Linked DNA regions of Homo sapiens: all the other regions are linked to region 3. Evidence: promoter capture Hi-C in human tissues and cell types (Jung and others, 2019). All regions are on one chromosome and are shown on one strand. Each heading gives the region's core, a stretch centred on a gene start or on the middle of the fragment in contact. The rest is flanking DNA. Distances are from core to core; before and after follow the strand shown.

Region 1 (3,119 bases), core at 434-2,933, 480 kb before region 3:
GGGTTCAAGCCATCTTCCTGCCCCAACCTCCGGAGTAGCTGGAACAAAAGCATGTGCCACTGTATGCAGCCATTTCTTTTTTATAAGTGAGAATCTTATGAAATAAAATTTATCAGAATTCCTGTGTTTAAATCTCTTGCTGGGCAGGCACAGTGGCTCAACGTGCCCCACCAGCAAGAGATTTAAACACAGGAATTCAACACAGGAATTCAGCCAGGCACGGTATCATGCCTGGTAATTTTTTTGGTATTTTTTGTAGAGAATGGGTCTCATCATGTTGCCTAGACTGGTTTAGAACTCCTGGGCTCAAGCAATCCTCCCACCTTGGCCTCCCAAAGTGCTGGAATTACAGGTGTGAGCCACCACTCCTGACCTCTCATTTTTTACTGTAAAAAAAAAATTTACTTTGGGAGGCTGAGGCGGGGAGATCACAAGGTCAGGAGTTCAAGACCAGCCTGACCAACATGGTGAAACCCCAACTCTACTAAAAATACAAAAAAATTAGCCAGGCATGGTGGCACGCACCTGTAATCCCAGCTACTCAGGAGGCTGAGGCAGGAGAATCACTTGAACCCGGGAGGCAGAGGTTGCAGTGAGCTGAGATCACGCCACTGCACTCCAGCCTGGGCAACAGAGCGAGACTCTGTCTCAAAAAAAAAAAAATATATATATATATATATAAATTTTGAAATGCATATAAAATAATAAAAATTTACTTATCAATAATGTTAAACTTTTCTAAACTGCTAATACTAATCAATAGTTTTTGTTCAACCATTCTAGAAAAAAGACTAAATTATTTTTCTGCTCTCTCTACAGAGAATATTGTAAAATCATTGTTATATGAAGGGATTACAGGTGCGAGCCACTGCACCTGACCTCCTTCTCAATTTCTTTTCTTTCTTTCTTTTGTTTGTTTGTTTGTTTGAGACAGAGTCTAGAGTCTTGCTCTGTTGCCCAGGCTGGTGTGCAATGGTACGATCTCGGCTCACTGCAACCTCTACCTCCGAGGTTCAAGCGATTCTCCTGCCTCAGTCTCCCAAGTAGCTGGGATTATAGGCACATGCCACTGCGCCTGGCTAATTTTTTATTTTTAGTAGAGATGGGGTTTCACCATGTTAGTTAGACTGGTCTCGAACTCCTGACCTCAGGTGATTCACCCGCCTCAGCCTCCCAAAGTGCTGAGATTACAGGCGTGAGCCACCGTGCCCAGCCCTCCTTCTCAATTTCTATTCAGAAATAAAATAAAAATCTTATTGCCTTCCAAGAGGCAAACACTCTAAGAGGTAGTTTATGTCCTTTCTGCATGTTCTTTTATTTTTTTTTGGAGACTCTTTTCTTGCTCTGTTGCCCAGGCTAGAGTATAGTGGTACTATCATGACTCACTGCAACCTCGACCTCCTGGGCTCAAGCCATCCTGCAGCTTCAGCCTCCTGAGTGGCTGAGACAACAGGCACACACCACCACACTCAGCTAATTTTCGTATTTTTTTGTAGAGGCGATATTTCACCATGTTGCCCAGACTGGTCTCAACTCCTGGGCTCAAGCAATCCGCCCACTTTTGTCTCCCAACGTTCTGAGATTACTGGCATGAGCCACCTTGCCTCTAGCCCGAACTATGAATTTTTCCTGCAGATACTGAGATGATCATATTTTTCTCTGTTAACCAGGGAATATGGTGCATTACATGAAAAGATTTTCTGCTGTTGAAATGCCCTTGCCTTCCTGGGATAATCAATTGCATTTATTTTCTTTCTTTTTTTTTTGTTTTGTTTTTTGAGACAGAGTCTTGCCGTGTCACCCAGGCTGGGCTGCAATGGTGCAGTCTTGGCTCACTGCAACCTCCGCCTCCCAGGTTTAAGCAATTCTCCTGCCTCAGCCTCCTGAGTAGCTGGGATTACAGGCGCCCTCCACTATGCCTGGCTAATTTTTGTATTTTTAGTAGAGACGGGGTTTCACCACGTTGGCCAGGCTGGTCTCAAACTGCTGACCTCGTGATCCGCTCGCCTCAGCCTCCCAAAGTGCTGAGATTACAGTCGTGAGCTACCGTGCTCGGCCAATTGCATTTATTTTCTATTGTGAGTTTCTTTTCTAGCTCCCTGTCTCAGTCCATGCCTTGGAGGGACAATGACATTTCCTGTCTTGGTTCCTTGTCAAAAACTCCAGTTTCTTAGTTGGAATTTTCTAGAAGCTTCTGGAAACTTGGTTTGCTTATTAGTGATGTGATGGGATTGGTCAAGAGGCGTCAGGAGAGAACCTGGTGCTTTAGGCTGTAGAATCAGGTGAAAGCCAGGTTGTGAGCAAGTAGCAACATCCAAAGTTACCTACTTTTGTTTTTTAGCAACAGAATTCAAATTCTCTGCCCTTGTCTGGAAAGTTTATTCTGTCTCATAGATACTTTTTTTGTGAAAAGTGTAACTTTGGCTAGGCGCCGTGGCTCACGCCTGTAATCCCAGCACTTCGGGAAGCGGGCAGATCACGAGGTCAGGAGATCGAGCCCGTCCTGGCTAACACAGTGAAACCCTGTCTCTACTAAAAATACAAAAAATTAGCCGGGCGTGGTTGCAGGCGCCTGTAGTCCCAGCTACTCAGGAGGCTGAGGCAGGAGAATGGCCTGAACCCGGGAGGCGGAGCTTGCAGTGAGCCGAGATCCTGCCACTGCACTCCAGCCTGGGTGACAGAGCGAGACTCCATCTCAAAAAAAAAAAAAAAAGAAAAGTGTAACTTTATCATTTTGTGTTTTGACCACTCCCTAAGGGCCAGACACTGTGCTCAGTTTTTTATATGCCTTACTATTAATGATGCCAGTTACTATGTACTGATCTTTTCCCCAGTTCTAGGCACTGTGATCATTGTTCTGCAAATAGCATTTTATTTAATCCCCTATAGGGTAGACATTAATCACCCTATAGGGTAGGCATTAGCTCTATTCTATGCATGAGAAAACTGCGACTGAGAGGCTAACTTGCCAGTGGTCACAAGACAGAGCCCAGGTTCCAAGTCGAATTTGTCTCATTGCGGAGCCTTTGCTATGAACCATCACTATACATGCTCTGGGAAACTGGCTTTGTCAGCCCAAACATGGCATCTAGGAAATGGCCTGTAAACTCCCATGATCA
Region 2 (2,917 bases), core at 260-2,759, 310 kb before region 3:
ATGAGCCACCATGCCTGGCTAGTTCTCTGATTTTTTTGTTTGTTTGTTTGTTTTTGAGATGGAGTCTTTTTTGCTCTGTCACCTACACTGGAGCGCAATGGTGCAATCTCTGCTCACTGCAACCTCTGCCTCCTGTGTTCGAGCAATTCTCCTGTCCTGGCCTTCTGAGTAGCTGGGATTACAGGTGCCCGCCACCATGCCTGGCTAATTTTTTGTATTTTCAGTAGAGACGGGGTTTCACCATGTTGACCAGGCTGGTCTTGAACTCCTGACCTCAGGTGATCCACCTGGCTCGGCCTCCCAAAGTGCTGGGATTACAGGCATGAGCCACCATGCCCAGCCAGTTCTCTGATCTTGTCCTCCAGTTTTTATGTGTAACTGAGGCTGAGCTCTCAAGTTCAAATGGTCTTTGAATAAAGCTAAATGCAGGCCGGGTGCGGTGGCTTATGCCTGTAATCCCAGCACTTTGGGCGGCCAAGGCAGGCGGATCACAAGGTCAGGAGTTCGAGGTTATCCTGGCCAACATAGTGAAACCCCGTCTCTACTAAAAATACAAAAGATTAGCCGGGCGTGGTGGCAGGCACCTGTAATCCCAGCTACTCGGGAGGCTGGGGCAGGAGAATGGCTTGAACCCGGGAGGTGGAGGTTGCAGTGAGTTGAGATCCTGCCATGGCACTCCAGCCCGGGTGACAGTGCGAGACTCTGTCTTTAAAAACAAAAAAAAAAGAATTGCTAAATGCAGTATTCTTTGGTGTTCGCTGTGGGAAATGTGTTCTGATGAGAGGGAGGCAATCCATAATGTGCCCCTTTGTATGCAGGGTGGGCAAAACACTGCTTCCAACTAGTTACGTCTAAGATACTAGGTTATCCCACTGGTTACCAAACAACTCAACTATGGTTTGCTGCCTTCCATAGCTGGCCCTGTCCTTAAATCCCAACATCGTCTGAAAATAATATAGAAGCTTTTGAGACTGTCTTGTTTCTACCCACTCACATTCCAGTTATGGGACCAGGCGGGCGTGGGAGAAGAAACGGGATCGTCAAAGTGGGACTGTTCCGTGTGGCATGATGGCAATTTCAAGCAAGGAATGTTGCTGAATGCTCAGAGCCTGCCCCAGGACCAAAAGCTTTTCATGAACTTGGGTTTCATTTGTATTTGAACATCAGTCATCTCTCTTGGGGTCCTCTCTTGAAAGCTACTTTTGCCCAGTAGGCTAGAAAGTGGGGCACCGTAGGTTTAATAGCAGCATGCAGGGATGACAGAGTATTAAAAACACTTTTTAAAAGTCATTCTTACTAGTTTTTGTCATGAAAAAAAAAAGAATTCATTCTAATTGTAACAGGCCAAGTAATACAAGGATATATAAGGAAAATATGTTGTTGTTGTTTTCAAACTGCCTCCTGGCCAGGCACAATACTTGTATCTGTAATCCCAGCACTTTGGGAGGCTGAGGTTGGTGGATCGCTTGAGGCCAGGAGTTCAAGACCAGCCTGGGCAACGTGGCAAAACCCCATCTAGTCCTGTAAACATAAAATTACATTTTTTGCTGAAATACAAAAAATACAAAAATTAGCTGGGTGTGGCAGCACATGCTTAAAATAGAGCATGGCACATTAATATTCTACACATGTTTAAAATACTAATAAAATAGGCCAAGCATGATGGCTCATGCCTGTAATCCCAGAACTTTGGGAGGCTGAGGCAGGTGGATCACCTGAGGTCAGAAGTTCATGACCAGGCTTGGCATCATAGCGAGACCCTGTCCCTACAAACAATAATTAAAAATTTGCTGCGGTGGAGTACACCTGTAGTCTCAGCTACTCTGGAGGATGAGGTGGGAGGATGGTTTGAGCCCAGGAAGCTGAGGCTGCGGTGAGCTAGCGTTTGTGCCACTGCACTTTAGCCTGGGTGACAGAGTAAAACCCTTTCTCAAAAAATTAAAATGAGGCTGGGCTCAGTCATTCACTTCTGTAATCCCAGCACTTTGGGAGGCCAAAGCGGGAAGATGGCTTGAGCCCAGGAGTTTGTGAGCAGCCTGGGCAACGTAGTCAGACCCCATCTCTACAATAAATAAAATTAGCCAGGCATGGTGGCATGTACCTGTAGCCCCAGCTACTCAGGAGGCTGAAGCAGGAGGATTGCTTGAGCCCCGAAAGCCAAGGCTGCAGTGAGCAGTGTTTGCACCACTGCATTCCACCCTAGGTGACAGAGACCTGTCTCAAAAAGCACACAAATAAAATTAAATAAAATCTGAATAAAATAGTTCATAAAAGCTAATTGAAGCTTAGTTGAGGCTGCAGTTTTTGATGATGGTGATGATATTGTAATGAAAAGACTTTCCCAGCTGGGCACAGTGGCTCACACCTATAATCCCAGCAGTTTGGGAGGCAGAGGCGGGCAGATCACTTGAGGTCAGGAGTTCGAGACCAGCCTGGCCAACATGGTGAAACCTTGTCTCTACTAAAAATACAAAAATTAGCTGGGCGTGGTGGTGTGCACCTGTAATCCCCGCTACTCGGGAGGCTGAAGCAGGAGAATTGCTTGAATCTGGGAGGCAGAGGTTGCAGTGAGCCCAGATTGCACCATTGCACTCCAGCCTGGGTGACAGAGTGACACTCTGTCTCAAAAAAAAAAAAGACTTTCCCACATGGAGATGGCCAGTAGTGGGGAGTGGGGTCTTAGCTTCTTTTGTTGGGATTTGGTTTTTACACCAAGTCACCAAATAAGTTTATGAAAGGTGGGCATACTGGGTTAAAGAACACTTAGACCCTTGTTAGCTTTATTTTTGTTAGCTTTTTTTATGGGCATGTTGAAATATACCCAGTCCCCGTATTCTGATCCTCCAGTTTCAACATTTTGCCATTCTTCTTTCCTCCCACTTGCTGGGCTCAGAGACAACCCAGCCCTTGCCAGCGT
Region 3 (3,239 bases), core at 163-2,662:
CCACCATGCCTGGCTAATGTTTTTTTTTTTTTTCTTTTCTTTTCTTTTTCTTTTTTTTTTTATTTTTATTTTTTGAGATGGAGTCTCACTCTGTCGCCCAGGCTGGAGTACAGTGGCATAATCTTGGCCCACTGCAACCTCTGTCTCCTGGGTTTAAGCGATTCTTCTGCCTCAACCTTCCCAGTGGCTGGGACTACAGGCACGTGCCACCATGCCTGGCTAATTTTTGTATTTTTTAGTAGAGATAGGGTTTCACCATATTAGCCAGGCTGGTCTCTAACTTCTGACCTCGTGATCCGCCCACCTCGGCCTCCCAGAGTGTTGGGATTACAGGCGTGAGCCTGCACCCGGCCCTGGCTAATTTTTTAATTTTAATTTTTGTAGAGACGGGGGAAGTCTCGCTTTGTTGCCCAGGCTGGTCTTGAACTCCTGGCCTCAAGCGATCCTCCATCTTCAGCCTCCCAAAGTGCTGGGACTACAGGTGTGAGCCACTGTGCCTGGCCAATAATGTAAGATGGGATTGTGTGGAGTAGGTGTGCCTGGGGTCTTTGCTTGCCTGCGGGGACTGAGGTGTGAGGTCTGTGGCCCAGACTGAGCAATGGTGGGCAGGCAAGTCCCTGAGCCCCTAAAACTTGCGAGAGGAGAAGTTTATAGACTGCAGCTCAGGTGCCTATAAATTTGTTGCAGCTTGGGAAGAAGTGATAGAAATTATATCAGGTGTATTTGGAAAACAGGTAAACTCTGTTTTTTGGTTTTTTTTTTTTTTTTTTTTTTTTTTTTTTTTGGAGACGGAGTCTCGCTCTGCTGCCCAAGCTGGAGTGCAGTGGTGCGATTTCAGCTCACTGCAACCTCCACCTGCGGGGTTCAAGCGATTCTCCTGCCTCAGCCTCCCGAGTAGCTGGGATTACGGGCATGGTGCCCGTAACGCCGAAAGTGCTGAGATTACAGGCTTGAGCCACGGCGCCCGGCCACTCATTTTTTAAAAACTAGTTATTAATTATAATTTCTCTTCAAGTTTTCCTGAGATGTAAAAACTCATCGCCTTCAGCTGGTTCTAAACTTCTTGTCTCTGCTAACAACTCTCCCCCCTCCTCGATCTCACCCCACCCCAGTGCACCCCAACTCACTTCATCTCACTTTACTCGAGTCTAGCACTATCTTTTAGGGACCTGAAAACTACTGTCGATAAGGTCAGTTGGGAATTTAGGAGGTCATGGATGTCGGAAATAAAGGTGTGAAAAAGAAGAGGAGGAATTGTTTTGGCTTTAAGACACCGGAACCTCCAAGGTTCCTACAAAACCGTTTGCAGCTTTTGCAAACCGCCTTAAAGTCATCAGCGCCCCACTGCGGAATTCAAAGCTAAGCTGTCACAATTGTTAACACCTTCTTTGACCAGCCTTTTTACATTTGACAATTCTCTTCAGCGCCTCTTTCCTGCCAGCAGGAAGGTTTTGCTGCCTTGGCTTTCGGGAGCCCCCTAGACAGCGAACTGCCCCTTCGCGTGCAGAAGTCGGGGAAGAGTGCTCTCAGCTCGCCTTCCTTGCAGGGTGAGTAGGTTTTGCGGGTTAGAGAGCGGGGCGTGGGGGCGGGGAGGGAGAGTAACAATTTTGGAAGTCCCTGCGTGGTATCTGGAAAGTTAACGACGCTTCAGGTTCTAGGTTGAGCCCAATGACCGTCTTGCCTTGGCAGCTGGTCCCAGGGCGATTGCAGAGCCGCGTGGCCTTCGGCCCCACTCGGGGGACCCAGCTTCGGAGAGGGCGCAGGGGCTGCGAGTCTTGCGAGCCGGAGCCGCGTCCACCCGGGACTAGGCGTCCCCGCCGAGCGCTGGCTTGTGGCGCTCCCTGGGACCGCGCGGGGTCGGGGGTGCGCCCGCGGGGGCCCTCCCACTCTGGTCAACTTTCCCGGCCCCAGGGCCGGGGGAGGCGCCTCTCCTGGCGGGCACGCGCCGGGTACTTAAGGGCGGCTCGGCTGGGCAGGCGGCAGTCGGAGCGCGCGGCGGCGCGGAGCGGAGCGGGAGGAGGGGCATGGAGCCGCCGCGGGCCTGCTGAGCTCCGGAGCGCGGCAGCCGGCGGCACGGTGAGCGCGGGCCGGCCGGCACCCAGGAGGGGAGGGCCGCGCGGGGCTGCGCCGAGGCCGGGGCGCGCCGGGTGGCAGGGGTGCCTCTCGCCGAGCCCCCCGCACCCGGCCAGCTCCCAGCCCTGCGGGCGCCGCGTCCGGCGCGGGGAGGCGGGTTGGGGGCGGCGGCAGCCCCGGGCTTCCCGGCGGCCGTTCCTGCAGCCCCCTCCCCACTGACCCCTCCTCCCTTTCTTCCTGCATCCTCTCCTCTTCCAGCCTCGCCTCCCTCCTCCCCGGCGGCTCCTGTTTTGTGAATGAATTAGGAGGCGGACGCCGGTGCGGGGCTCCAGGCTGGCTGGGGTACCCCTCCCCCGCACCTTCTACGACCTCCCGGGGGTTTGCACCTGTCCGGGCACCAAGGTACCAGGCGCCCACGTTCCTGCGGGTTAGCCGGGCCGCGGCAGCACGTGTCCGGGGGAGTGGGCTCCCCTCCCCTGGCCGGCCTGGAGGGGCCCGGAGGGCGGCCGGGCACAAGAGGAGGAGCCCCGTTGGGCGCACAAGTTTCCATGCCGCTGCGTGTGGCCCTGCCGCGGGGCGCACCTGTCAGCGGGAGAGACGCTGCACACCAGCAGCCCCTCAAAGTTTCGGAGGCTTGATGGAGAAGCGTGCGTCCTTGACTGGGGGTTCTCCTTCCGTAGTCCTGGGAGCCGGACTTGAGAGCGCCCCCAACCTTGTGCCCTTGAAAGCCGAGTGCGCGTTAGTTTGCCTGGGCTGGGCTCCCGTGGATGAGCGAAGGGCATGAGGAGGCGGCGGTCCAGGCTGTAGGATCACCCCACAGCCTCTGCCGGCTTGGGGTGACACAGCCCCCCGCCCCAGGTCTGGGCAGGAGAACCTCGACCACAGCCTGCACCAGCGCCTGATTGCACGTGGGGTATCTGGCTGAGGGACATTTTGGGGGCCTCTATTTGGGGGTGGGGGTAGTAACCTGGGTAATGCCTCTAATTCCTGCGGGGGAGGGGTCCCGCCCAGGGAAGGAGAGGGCCGGCTACACCGGGGATGCGCCTTTGTCTACAGGCACACTTTGCCAAGGTAGCTGGGGTACCAGGAAGAGCAGGGCCTGGTCCGACTGGGATCCCTTGGGTTTTCCGTTCCTTCCCGGTTGGGTCGTGGGAAAGCGGCACGTG

Evidence for each region. The method cuts DNA at HindIII sites, captures the fragments that hold promoters and counts their contacts. A contact is called where the count stands out against the background at its distance.
Region 1: a contact is called between a fragment that was not itself captured here and the fragment with the promoter of HAS3 in region 3, in 2 of the 25 tissues and cell types used here (dorsolateral prefrontal cortex and lymphoblastoid cells).
Region 2: a contact is called between a fragment that was not itself captured here and the fragment with the promoter of HAS3 in region 3, in 2 of the 25 tissues and cell types used here (dorsolateral prefrontal cortex and mesenchymal stem cells).

Annotation. Positions count from the first base shown.
Region 1 is chr16:68,623,601-68,626,719 of GRCh38, forward strand. No RefSeq gene overlaps it. Among named protein-coding and RNA genes, the nearest start is that of CDH3, 20 kb to the right of the region's middle. The HindIII fragment of the contact is 4,710 bases long and covers 1-3,119 here.
Region 2 is chr16:68,795,454-68,798,370 of GRCh38, forward strand. The region is part of intron 2 of CDH1 (cadherin 1); the gene reads left to right. Among named protein-coding and RNA genes, the nearest start is that of TANGO6, 47 kb to the right of the region's middle. RefSeq lists enhancers at 1-252, 253-753. The HindIII fragment of the contact is 4,503 bases long and covers 1-2,917 here.
Region 3 is chr16:69,104,241-69,107,479 of GRCh38, forward strand. HAS3 (hyaluronan synthase 3) reads left to right here and starts at 1,413. Exons shown (of 4, transcript NM_001199280.2): 1 at 1,413-1,547. RefSeq lists an enhancer at 1,078-1,626 and a silencer at 1,760-2,039. The HindIII fragment of the contact is 9,378 bases long and covers 1-3,239 here.